Regions from separate parts of the Homo sapiens genome. Here region 1 is linked to region 2. The links are contacts of gene promoters, found by promoter capture Hi-C in blood cells and fetal thymus (Javierre and others, 2016). All regions are on one chromosome and are shown on one strand. The core of a region is centred on a gene start or on the middle of the fragment in contact, and the rest is flanking DNA. Distances in the headings are between cores, read along the strand shown. Region 1 overlaps TM6SF1 (transmembrane 6 superfamily member 1). Region 2 holds the start of HOMER2 (homer scaffold protein 2).

The links. The method cuts DNA at HindIII sites, captures the fragments that hold promoters and counts their contacts. A CHiCAGO score of 5 or more calls a contact.
Region 1: a fragment that was not itself captured here is called in contact with the fragment with the promoter of HOMER2 in region 2 in 1 of 17 cell types (neutrophils); the score reaches 5.5 in neutrophils.

Annotation. Positions count from the first base shown.
Region 1 is chr15:83,115,611-83,121,051 of GRCh38, reverse strand. TM6SF1 (transmembrane 6 superfamily member 1) reads right to left here. Exons shown (of 10, transcript NM_023003.5): 3 at 5,110-5,207; 4 at 1,371-1,474. It also overlaps a transcript of HDGFL3 not described here. Among named protein-coding and RNA genes, the nearest start is that of TM6SF1, 11 kb to the right of the region's middle. The HindIII fragment of the contact is 2,839 bases long and covers 2,429-5,267 here.
Region 2 is chr15:82,950,044-82,955,274 of GRCh38, reverse strand. HOMER2 (homer scaffold protein 2) reads left to right here and starts at 2,555. Exons shown (of 9, transcript NM_004839.4): 1 at 2,555-2,744. The coding sequence starts at 2,740. RefSeq lists an enhancer at 2,805-3,305. The HindIII fragment of the contact is 1,453 bases long and covers 1,917-3,369 here.

The DNA.
Region 1 (5,441 bases), core at 2,599-5,098, 160 kb before region 2:
AATAACCCAAACTCCACACTATGTAACAGGCTATGAGAAATTCAAAAGGAAATTCTCTGAAGGGAAACGAGAATACTGTGTGCGTCCTGCCCCACCCCCGCCCTCAAGCCAAATGTAACCAGACCCCAAGAGGCCCATTCATAATGACTGGGATTATAAGCAGGAGAACAGATAAGAATGAGCTGGAGCCGGGCACGGTGGTTCACGCCTGTAATCCCAGCACTTTGGGAGGCTGAGGCGGGCAGATCACCAGAGGTCAGGAGTTTGAGACCAGCCTGGCCAACATGGTGAAAAAAATGTTTAGATTTGTGTACTAAAAATACAAAATTTGCGGGTATAGTGACACACGCCTGTAGTCCCAGCTGAGGCCTGAGAATCGCTTGAACCTGGGAGGCGGAGATTGCAGTGAGCTGAGATTGTGCCATTGCACTCCAGCCTGTCTCAAAAAAAAAAAAAAAAAAAAAGAATTAGCTGGAGCTGACCTTGAGTGCATGTTGGGAGTGAGGGAGATACTTGGGTAAACTACATTTCAACCTTGTATGGGGCAAGAATGCATGACTTTCTGTAACCCAGAAGCAAGTGGAGGCCTGAGAAGATGGCCGGACTTGAAATGTTTTGAAAAGACCCCTCCCCAAAGGGTGTACCTTCTGGGTTACAGGGGCCCCAGCAGAAAAAAAGCTGTGGGTGTGCCACCATGGGCAGAAATTCAGCCCAAGAGCACGTCGTTCACTTCAGGGATTAGTGCAATGCAGAAGCTCCTGTGGTTGGGGTCTCTAAAGAACTCACATGTGTGCCTCCCAAGACCAAGCTAGCATATCATGATGGGGGTACCAATACCCAAAAACCAGCACCTTTCACATCAGACTCGGCTCCTGTTCCTTTAATCCCTTGTACATACACATCCACTGCCAAGGGGCCAGCCGCAGAGTGAGACAGGAGGAGTGAACGGACAAGCCATGTAGCCAAGCCTTAGTGCGAGCCAAGCCGCAGAGCTGTGCCTGATCTGGGGAAGGACAGAAGCTTTGAACCGAAATGAGATTGCTGTTTGGAAATTTTGAAGTTTTGAAATGAAGTTTAAGATGTGCTTAGCTTTAATTGCTGAAAATAAAAATTATTCTTGTAAGACAACATAATCAGAAAGCTTAAAGGGTCTGCCCGAGCTGTCACCATGCTAGGGAGCAATTCAGAAGGACATATTCAAAAGGCAGTGGTACAAGGAGGATAAAGCCACGTCTGACGTGCACCCATGGAACTTATATTCATGTCCAGTATACCTGCTTGTGTATTTGCCTCTATGCATAACGTTTCCTTACATACCCGCTTATCGGTTGCTAAGGTGGCAAAGGCACACACCAGGTGAACTGACTTACTCCCATGCTATGGCTGCCACCATCACCAGGTACATCAGATAATGAGCAGAGCCATCCCAGTAGCAGATCATGTGCCCATATGCGGTGTTCAGATACGGTTCACCCTAAAGAAAGCATTAAAAAGAAGTCCACTTTAAATAAGACCTGTAAATGCAGAACATCAGACCTGTATTGCAAGTAAAATAAAACAGCAGAACTAACTTGTGTTCATCTGCTAAGATGAAACTATTTCTTCAAAATTGGTAGGAACATGAAAATACAACTTTACGCTGGAGCTGCCAAAACCAGGGTCTGGCCACAGAGGATGGAATTAGAGAATGCCTGGCCAATTGGCCCATGATGCATCAACATAGGTTTGTACTGTGATGCGAAGGCAGATGGCATGATAGGCAATCCTGGCTGTATGGCAAACTCATGGAGACCAAGCCAAATCTTTGACACAAGGTGCTTGGCAGTGACCAGAGAGGTGGCCAGGGATGACCCTGCTTTCCAGAACCAGTGGCTGGCCTTAATAATTCATGCTGATCCCGTGGCTTGCTGGGCTGGGCATGGCACAACACTCATTCCCCACATACTGACACATAGGCAGGCAGGCACCGAACTCGGAGCTTCACACCCAACCCCTCCTTCTACCTTCCCAACAACCCAGTGGGATGGACAGGATTGAGTCCATTTTACAGATGAGGAAACAGATGCTCTGAGATTACAAGACTTTCCTAAGGTCACGTAGCTAGTATACCTAGCAGAGACCAAGAAGAGCCATACTTCTCCTGGGCAAATGTTAATGTTATGAACACAAGATTATATGACGAACTACATTTCCCTTTTCTAGGTGGTTACATTTCCAGGTGGCTTCTAGAAAATCACTGTCATCAATTTTCCGTGCATTTTTACTGTTGTTTTGGCCCCACCTTGTTTTCCTTTCCTCTTTCTCCCACGTTCATGCTGTCCTGGCTTGTTTCACGCTGTAAGATGCCTTAAGTCCTTTCTACAACAAGGAAGAGTGCAGATCAACCAGCCCATCAATCAGCCAAGCAAGCAGGGCTTTCTCTTAAGCTTCATGCTCCCCTGGGGCAAGGACTGCTCTGTCATCTCTCCCACAGATCAAATCAAATTAAAATCAGAGAAGCAGGAAACAGAATCAAGGTTCTGCTTCTACACCCATGCCAGGCCCACGTCCCTTCTCTTGGACTTGCTCTGACTGAAGAATACATCCGATTTATGGTTTCAGACTTCCATTGCTAACACACCTGGCTCTCTGAGCCAGTGCTGGCCTCTCCTGGTAGCTTGATGAGCATCTTTAACTGCATGGTGCACAGGCCACAGGTCCTTTCAACTCGCCTGAACTCTTAATTCATCAGCTTCTCCCCTCAACCAGCCTTCCATCTTGCCTCTCTCTCTCTTGCTCTCTCTGTATGTGTGTGTGTGTGTGTGTGTGTGTGTGTGTGTGTACGTACAGAGACAGGGTCTCACTCTGTCACCCGGTCTAGAGTGCAGTGGTGATCATTGCTCACTGCAGTCTCAACTCCTGGCGTCAAGCGATCCTCCCGCCTTTGTCTTCCAAAGCACTGAGATTACAGGCATGAGCCACCAGGCCAGCCATGGCCTCTCTATATTAATGGTGAAACCATTCGGCTTACCAAGGTCAAAACCACATGGTCATTTTTTCATTCCTCATTCTCCTATGCAGTCTCTCAGCAAATCTATCAACTTTATTGCTACGATGTCACCCCGGCAATTCTCCCTCTTCTTCACAGCATTAGGTCTAGCCCTCAGTGTCCCTCACTGGACCACAGCTATGTTCCCAAATGGTCTCCCTACCTTTGTCCCCTCCTTCCAACCCATGACACTCCTCCTGCCAGATAAAGATTCTCAAGGCCTGGCTCTTGGCATGTTGTTCCTCTACTCTAAAACTCCCCAAAACTTGTCACAGCCTGCTGGACCAAGCCCCATCTCCTCTCTATCACAGCTGGGTCCCCAGAGCCTGGCCCTGCAGACCTTGCCACCACAGTTACACCCCAGTCCCCCTTCTGATACCCCGTCTGCCCCAATGCTTACCACCCTTGCCAACTCAGCCTCCAGCCCTCTCGTCAGCCGCCTCCTTCCTAAAACCTCCCTCCTCTGGGCTCCATGGCCCCCACTCTCCAGGTTTTCCTTCTGCCTCTTGGCCTGCCCCCCATGGTCCACTTCAGGGGCTTCTCTTCTTCTGGCCATGGTCTCTAAAGTCCCAAGCTCAGCCCTTTTCTCTCTCTACCTTCTCATAGGCAAGCCCTTCTCCTCTCAGACATTCAGGTACCAACTGCACTCCGATGGCCCGTGACTCTCTCTTCCAGGACTGCTCCTCAGAGCTCAAGACCTGCAAAGCCCTGCCAGCATCTGAAACTCCACCTCCCCATAGAAACTCAGCCTCATCCTTGCAGATTGGTGCCCCAGGGAGAGGCACATGCTCTTTCTCCTCTCCAAGCCTTTGCCCAAGCTGTCCCTTCTCTCCGGAATTCCCCCTACCTCCCTGGTCCATCTGGAAATGTCCATCTTCCACTGCCATGACCATTTTTAAAATGCTACAGCAGTGTCACCAACTCAATAAGCCTTCCCCGACTGCACCCAGACTTAATTCCTCCTCTGAGTACTTCTGTGCCTGGAGTGAGTCTCTCACTGTGCCTGGGACAATTCCATCTCCCCACCCTTTCAGGCAGGGAGCTCCCAGGGGGCAGGGAGCAGGTCTTCTGACCACAGAGTCCCCTTCAACAAATGTCTGCAGAAATAAATTCCTCCTGTCATCCCTCTCTGGTGTAAAAACAGCAGCATTCTTCCAAATTCCAAAGCAGGAATCAGGACACTGTCTTAGGCCTCATCCTTCCCATCACTCCCAATTTGTCCCCAAGTCTTATTCATTCCAGCCACTCCGATTCTCTAAAGTTCATCCCTCTCTCTACTTCCCATGCGCTGCCTCCATCCAGCCACGTTTATGCCCCTGCTGGTCCCGAGGAAGCCTCCTGACTGGTGCCCCAGCTCATGGCACGGACCCTTCCCTGCAAGCCCATCCTTCCCAGAGCTGCCTGTATTCTTCACTGACTTAAAATCTTCCCTCACAGACAGGATAAAACCCAAACTCCCACAGCGTACATACAAAGCTCCCCATTATCTGAACATGGATGAAGAATCTGCTTTGAGCCCTTTTCCTCATTTCCTGTGTCACCTTGAATAAGTCACTTAACCTCTCTGGGGCTGGGTTCAGCCCACCATAAAATAAGAAAATAGGACTAGCTCTCTCGAGTACCAGGTAGTATCAAAGCTATGATTTGGGCAGCATGGTGGAGAGTGCAAGCCATCACAATCAAATGACTTCATCAAGTGCCTCTGTGTTGGGTACTTTACAAATTTAAGACTGACTTGGGGTTTCTGAGATAGTCATGTATTAACAGACACATAAATACTAAATCCATTTAAGGTACCTTATTTATATTAAATACAGATAAAGGGGAAAAGCAGGTCATGTGTGCGGTCATGAGTGAGAGAAGCCGTGAGAGCTGAATGTTGGAGAGAATTGCCTCTCGTGATCTAACCGTCCTTTCTGCTCCACTTTCCATGTGACTAAGCGACCTAAGGCTATTATAGGAAATGAAAGCCTGCGTAGCGTACCTGTTCACACTAAATGAGAGGATTTCTGTCTCTGAGTAATGTGATCTGGGTTGTGGCCTTTTGGTTGAAACCTCATAATCACTAAGTGATCCCATACCTCTCTCAAGTAGTGTGTCATGAACCCGTCAATGATTCCATCTTGCTCCAGTCCTATGATGAGGTTCACCACGCTGGTAAATCCAAAAACTGCATACACTAGAGCAAAGAAAGCAGCAGTTTAAAAAGCAATAGCTCAGGAGACAATTACTACAAGCTTGGCATCAGCTAATAATAATGGAATGTTTTTCATGTTTTCCAGAAGATGCTGTGGACAATTATCGAGATAGACTAACAGAATACCCCTTCTACACACCCAGCTGGACCTCCACCTGTGTTCGCAGCTCTCCCCATCCCTGCCTAAGTACTCTCATCAAGGGAACACTCATCACA
Region 2 (5,231 bases), core at 1,306-3,805:
TTGCATGAACCCAGGAGGCAGAAGTTGCAGTGAGCCAAGATTGCGCCACTGCACTCCAGCCTGGGCAACAGAGTGAGACTCCGTCTCAAAAAAAAAAAAAAAAGAAAAAGAAAAAGAAAGTAAAAATACGTAGATTATAGGTTTTGAAATCAATTTAGTAGGTTATGAGCAGTACTGCTTTTAAAAATAGAACAGAATGGGCCGGGCACGGTGGCACACGCCTGTAATCCCAGCACTTTGGGAGGCTGAGGTGGGCCGATCACGAGGTCAAGAGATGGAGACCATCCTGGCCAACATGGTGAAATCCTGTCTCTACTAAAAATACAAAAATTAGCTGGGGTGGTGGTGCGCGCCTGTAGTCCCAGCTACTTGGGAGGCTGAGGCAGGAGAATCGCTTGAACCTGGGAGGCGGAGGTTGTGGTGCCCTGAGATCATGCCACTGCACTCCAGCCTGGTGACAGAGCAACACTCTGTCTCAACAACAACAACAACAAAACAGAATGATGTCTGAATGCCTGCCTGGCAAGTGAGAGGATAAACATTGTTTTATATAACTTTTTGTTTCTATTTTATATCGATATACCTATAGACATAGTATGTATGTGCTGAAGTATGTACCAGGTTGCAGGTTGTAGTGTAAAATATATTTCTTACTGTGGATTGTAGTTTAAAAAAATGAAAAACTCGGCCAGGCACGGTGGCTCATGCCTGTAGTCCCAGCCCTTTGGGAGGCCGAGGCGGGTGGATCACGAGGTCAGGAGATCGAAACATGGTGAAACCCTGTCTCTACTAAAAATACAAAAAAAAAAAAAAACTGGGCGTGGTGGCATGCGCCTGCAGTCGCAGCTACTGGGGAGGCTGAGGCAGTAGAATCGCTTGAATCTGGGAGGTGGGGGTTGCAGTGAGCCGAGATCACGCCACTGCCACTGCACTCTAGCCTGGGTGAGCAGAGTGAGACTCCGTCTCAAAAAAAAAATAATAAAAATAAAATAAAAATGAAAAACTCTGATTTCAGTGGCTTGCCTTTGAAGTTATTCGAACACTTCAGAATCCTCAGGTATTACCTGATAAATGACTTGTTCAGTGTTCTACAAGCTCACTTTCCTGATATTGCTGATTACTATGCATGGAGGATTTGGAAACTCCCAAGATTATTTTATTTTTTACAAACTTATTTTGTATTTATTTATTTATTTTTTTGAGACAGTCTGGCTCTTTTCACCAGGCTAGAGTGCAGTGGCATGATCTCGGCTCGCTGCAACCCCTGCCTCCTGGGTTCAAGCGATTCTCCTGCATCAAGCCTCCCGAGTAGCTGGGAGTAGCTGGGACTACAGGAGCACGCCACCACACCCGGCTATTTATGTATTTAATTAATTAATTTATTTATTTTTTGAGACGGAGTCTCGCTCTGTTGCCCAGGCTGGAGTGCAGTGGTGCGATCTCGGCTCACTACAAGATCCGCCTTCCAGGTTCACGCGATTCTTGTGCGTCAGCCTCCGGAGTAGCTGGGACTACAGGCGCCTGTCTCCACGCCCGGCTAATTTTTTTTGTGTGTGTGTATTTTTAGTAGAGACGGGGTTTCACCGTGTTAGCCAGGATGGCCTCGATCTCCAGACCTCGTGATTCGCCCGCCTCGGCCTCCCAAAGTGCTGGGATTACAGGCGTGAGCCACCGCGCCCGACCTGTCCCTTGACTTTTTTACTGTCCTGAGATGCCAGGCTTATGTGGGCGGTGTGTTCCCAGCAGAAGATGATCCCGTGGAAGTCCCGGGGGATGAAGGTTAGGTTAGTCCCAGTGCCAGCCTTTGGTAGAAACTCAGGACCTGATAGGTAGAAAGGCGACGAAGAGAGCCTGCTCTTCTTCAAGTTCTACTTTTGCCATCCTAATTCCCCTCGCTCTAAGGATAAAACCAAGCTTGATGAAGCCGCCTTAAAACTGCCCCTTCAAGTGGGAGCCCTCATCTCATTTTTATCCAGGAAAGAGCCCAGAGCATCTGCCGCGGCCTGTAGGCTCTTCTCTGCCAGGCTGGCTTCCGAAATTTCACGGTGGCGGGTACCTTAAGGCCACTCGGCCGGGCAACTGGCAGGAAGATGAAGGTGGGCTTTAAGGAGGAGCACAGCTATGCCCATCTCAGACTCTGGAGACCCGAACGAACTCTAATCTGAATGTGTGACCTTGGGCAAATCACTTACCCTCCCCAGGCCTCGGTTCCCTTATCTGCAAAGTAAAGGTAGCCCTAAAGTCCCCGCCAGGTGTGAATGGGACTTTAAGTCCATCAGGCAGGATGTTGATGGCACTGCGCCAGGGCCCCGGGTCGGCGTGGGGCGGGGGCGCGCCAACGCGGGGCCGGCACCGAGGACTGGGTGGCCCGGGAGAAAAGCGGCGACTGCGCGGCTGCGCGGGGGACGGTGCACACAGTGCTGCGCCCCCCGCCTCTTGGCTCGCTGCCGCGGCCCGGGGGCCACGAGGTTACGTAAGGAGCCGGGCGGGGGTAGCGGCTGGGGAGGGCGGGGCGGGCACCGCCCCAGCGCGGCCGCCCAGCCCCCGCCCGCCCGCGCCTGGCGGCGGTGGCGGCAGTGGCAGCAGTGGCAGCCGCGCAGCCCCGCGGAATGGAGCGGCGCCGGGGCTGAGCCGGGCGCGCACGGGCCGCCGCATGTGCCGCGCGGGGAGCGGCTGCCGAGCGGGCGGAGAGCGAGCGCGAGAGGCCCCGTCGGAGCGGCCGCCGGAGCAGCGCCGGAGATGGGGTGAGTGAGCCCGCGCCGCGCGCTCTCCGCGCGCCCCTCCGGAGGGACTGCGGGGCCGCGGCTGGCGTAACCGGGCTCGGAGCCTCCCGGCGGGCCGGCCCCCGCCTCCCCAAGCCGGAGCGAGCGCACACTCTGCGCCCGGGAGTCTGGGGCCACCTGACCCGCGCCCTCCGCCGGGGCACGCGGACACCCAGCAGGGGCACCCTGGCCTGGGCGCGGAGCCCGTGGCCCTTCCCCTCCCATACAGCCCGGGCACGGGGGCACCTGACGGGGACCGGTGCCCTGGCCGGCCTCCTGCCTCGGCCATTCCGCGGTCTCTTCGCCCCTGGGCGCAGTCAACTCCAGGGCCTGTGTGAGTCTAAGCAGTTTGTCGTTCTCCACGTTTGGATTTATTACAAGCAAAATGGAAATCGAAGTTTTCCTGGAAATAATCAAATAATAATAAACCTCCAGCGTAGGAATAGTGGACTTTGGATCTGCTTTGAGATGCTGAAGATGATGGAAGTCTATAAGGAACCTAGGTGAGGCTTCAGTCTTTGAAACAACTGAGTAGATGCTCAGGAGGGAAGTTGAAATACTCTGTCGAAGTGACTAATGCTTCTGAGTATATAAAGTAATTTAAGCTTTCCCCTCGGCGTCTCTCTGAGCAGTAGGCTCTGTGAGTCTGGGAGCCACTGTGCTAATAGCACAATAACTCCTTACATCTGCTCACTCTATTTGGGCACACGTTGACGGTTTGCCATACGTATTCAGGGGACACTTATGTCCACTTTACAGATGAGGAAACTGAGGCACAAAGTGGTTCGGTGACTTCCCCCAGGCTGTGTAGTTGATGAGCATTTGTGTAGCAGGGGTGGCCTTGCCACTGCCTGACGTGGGCATGGAGGCGGGTAAGTGAACCAGAATTCCTAAATCTCTCTGTTCCCTGCTGCTGAACCCAGCATTCTTCCAACAGCCCTTCGCAGGACTCAAATGCTTCTGCTCCAAGGGTCTAGAGATCTTGCTTTCCTGTTTGGGATGGGTGGGGCCTGGGAAGGCAAGAGTGCAGTGGAAGGAGCAAGATTGTCCTGGTGCCCTGGCTCAGCCCCCCTGGGTCAGTGGCTTTCTTGCACCGTACTCCAGGTTAAGTTTCTGGAGTCATTTTGCCTGGTGAGTCTTAGCCATGGGAGCTGCAGAGTGTGTGAGGGGATCAGAGGCAGGCCAAGAGGAATTTTGAGGAATGGAAGTGTGAGGGCTGTGGGCCAACATGAACTGGACATGACAGAGGTGGGTGACAGAGAGGAGGAGGCGAGATGAGCAGCGAGGGCTGAAGAAGTGTGCTTACATTTAGGAGATTTCACATGAACAGCAACTGTGGGTGATTTTACCCAGAGGCACCCAAGTTGGCAGGCCGTATTTCTGTAACATTTCCAGTGAGTCCTCAGTGGACTGTGAAAAGGCTGATCTTTGAGCAGTGAGAGCCTTTGAGGTTCTCAGATTTCATACTTTAAAAAAATGTACAGGGAAAAAGGAGTTGGCAAATGTAAGGTCTCAGAATGGAAGATAAAAGGGATCCGGTAATTTTAACTCTCTTTCTGGCCCTCCCTCCCCCTGGCCAACACAAAACCAATCCACCGTACTTGTGTGATCAAAAACAAGTACTGAAACTCTGTGGTTGAGATCAAATAGTTCTGTGGAAATGAAAATGTTTACTCACTCATAAAACCTTAAAGAAAATGTCAAAAAATAATTTTTGTTTGTGGAGAAGCAGGGAGGAGACGCTTGGGGATTTTGTTTAAACACAGAATATGTCTTTCATGTAATTTTAACATCATTCGATAAATGTATATATTACTCACTTCTCGTAGATAAAGGCTGGTTTGTAACTCCTACCTACCTCTGCCATTTTTAATAGATCCATGTCTTCTATTATTTATGTGAAAATACAAGCCATGGTCGTAAATTGAGATGCAGCTAAGGGCTGGGGAAGCAATTCAGACAGGAGGGTGGAGGGAGCCGTTTTAACTGAAAATAGAACCAATGTCATCCTTTCTGAGAGTTGTGTAGGATGGAGGGGGAAGAACTTTTTGAAAGGGCAGCTAGTAGAAAACCTTGCTGCGATCCTACAGCTTCGTCATGGCTCTGCTGTGTAGACAGGACTAGGATTTAAGGGAAAAAAAAACAAACTATCTGAGTTTACCTCCCCCCAACTTGAGATGCTTCTCCTCCCTCAAATGTTCACTACCATTTTCCACTTCTCTTCTGCGAAGTGTTCTGTGTTAAGTGTGGCCTCTCCAGTGAGTTTGTGTTCTTACTCCCTAAGGCAACTATTTCATACCTATTCCCCTTTCCAGACCTCTCCCCTTCCTAGGCACACCCCGTGGCTTCCCTTTCAATTGACAAGATAGGCACCTTTGACCAAGGGAATGTCTTCATTTTGCCACCACCTAGTCTAGTATGCAGCTGCTGCTACCTTCTCCTACCTGCCTGCTGTGCTGGATGACCTGT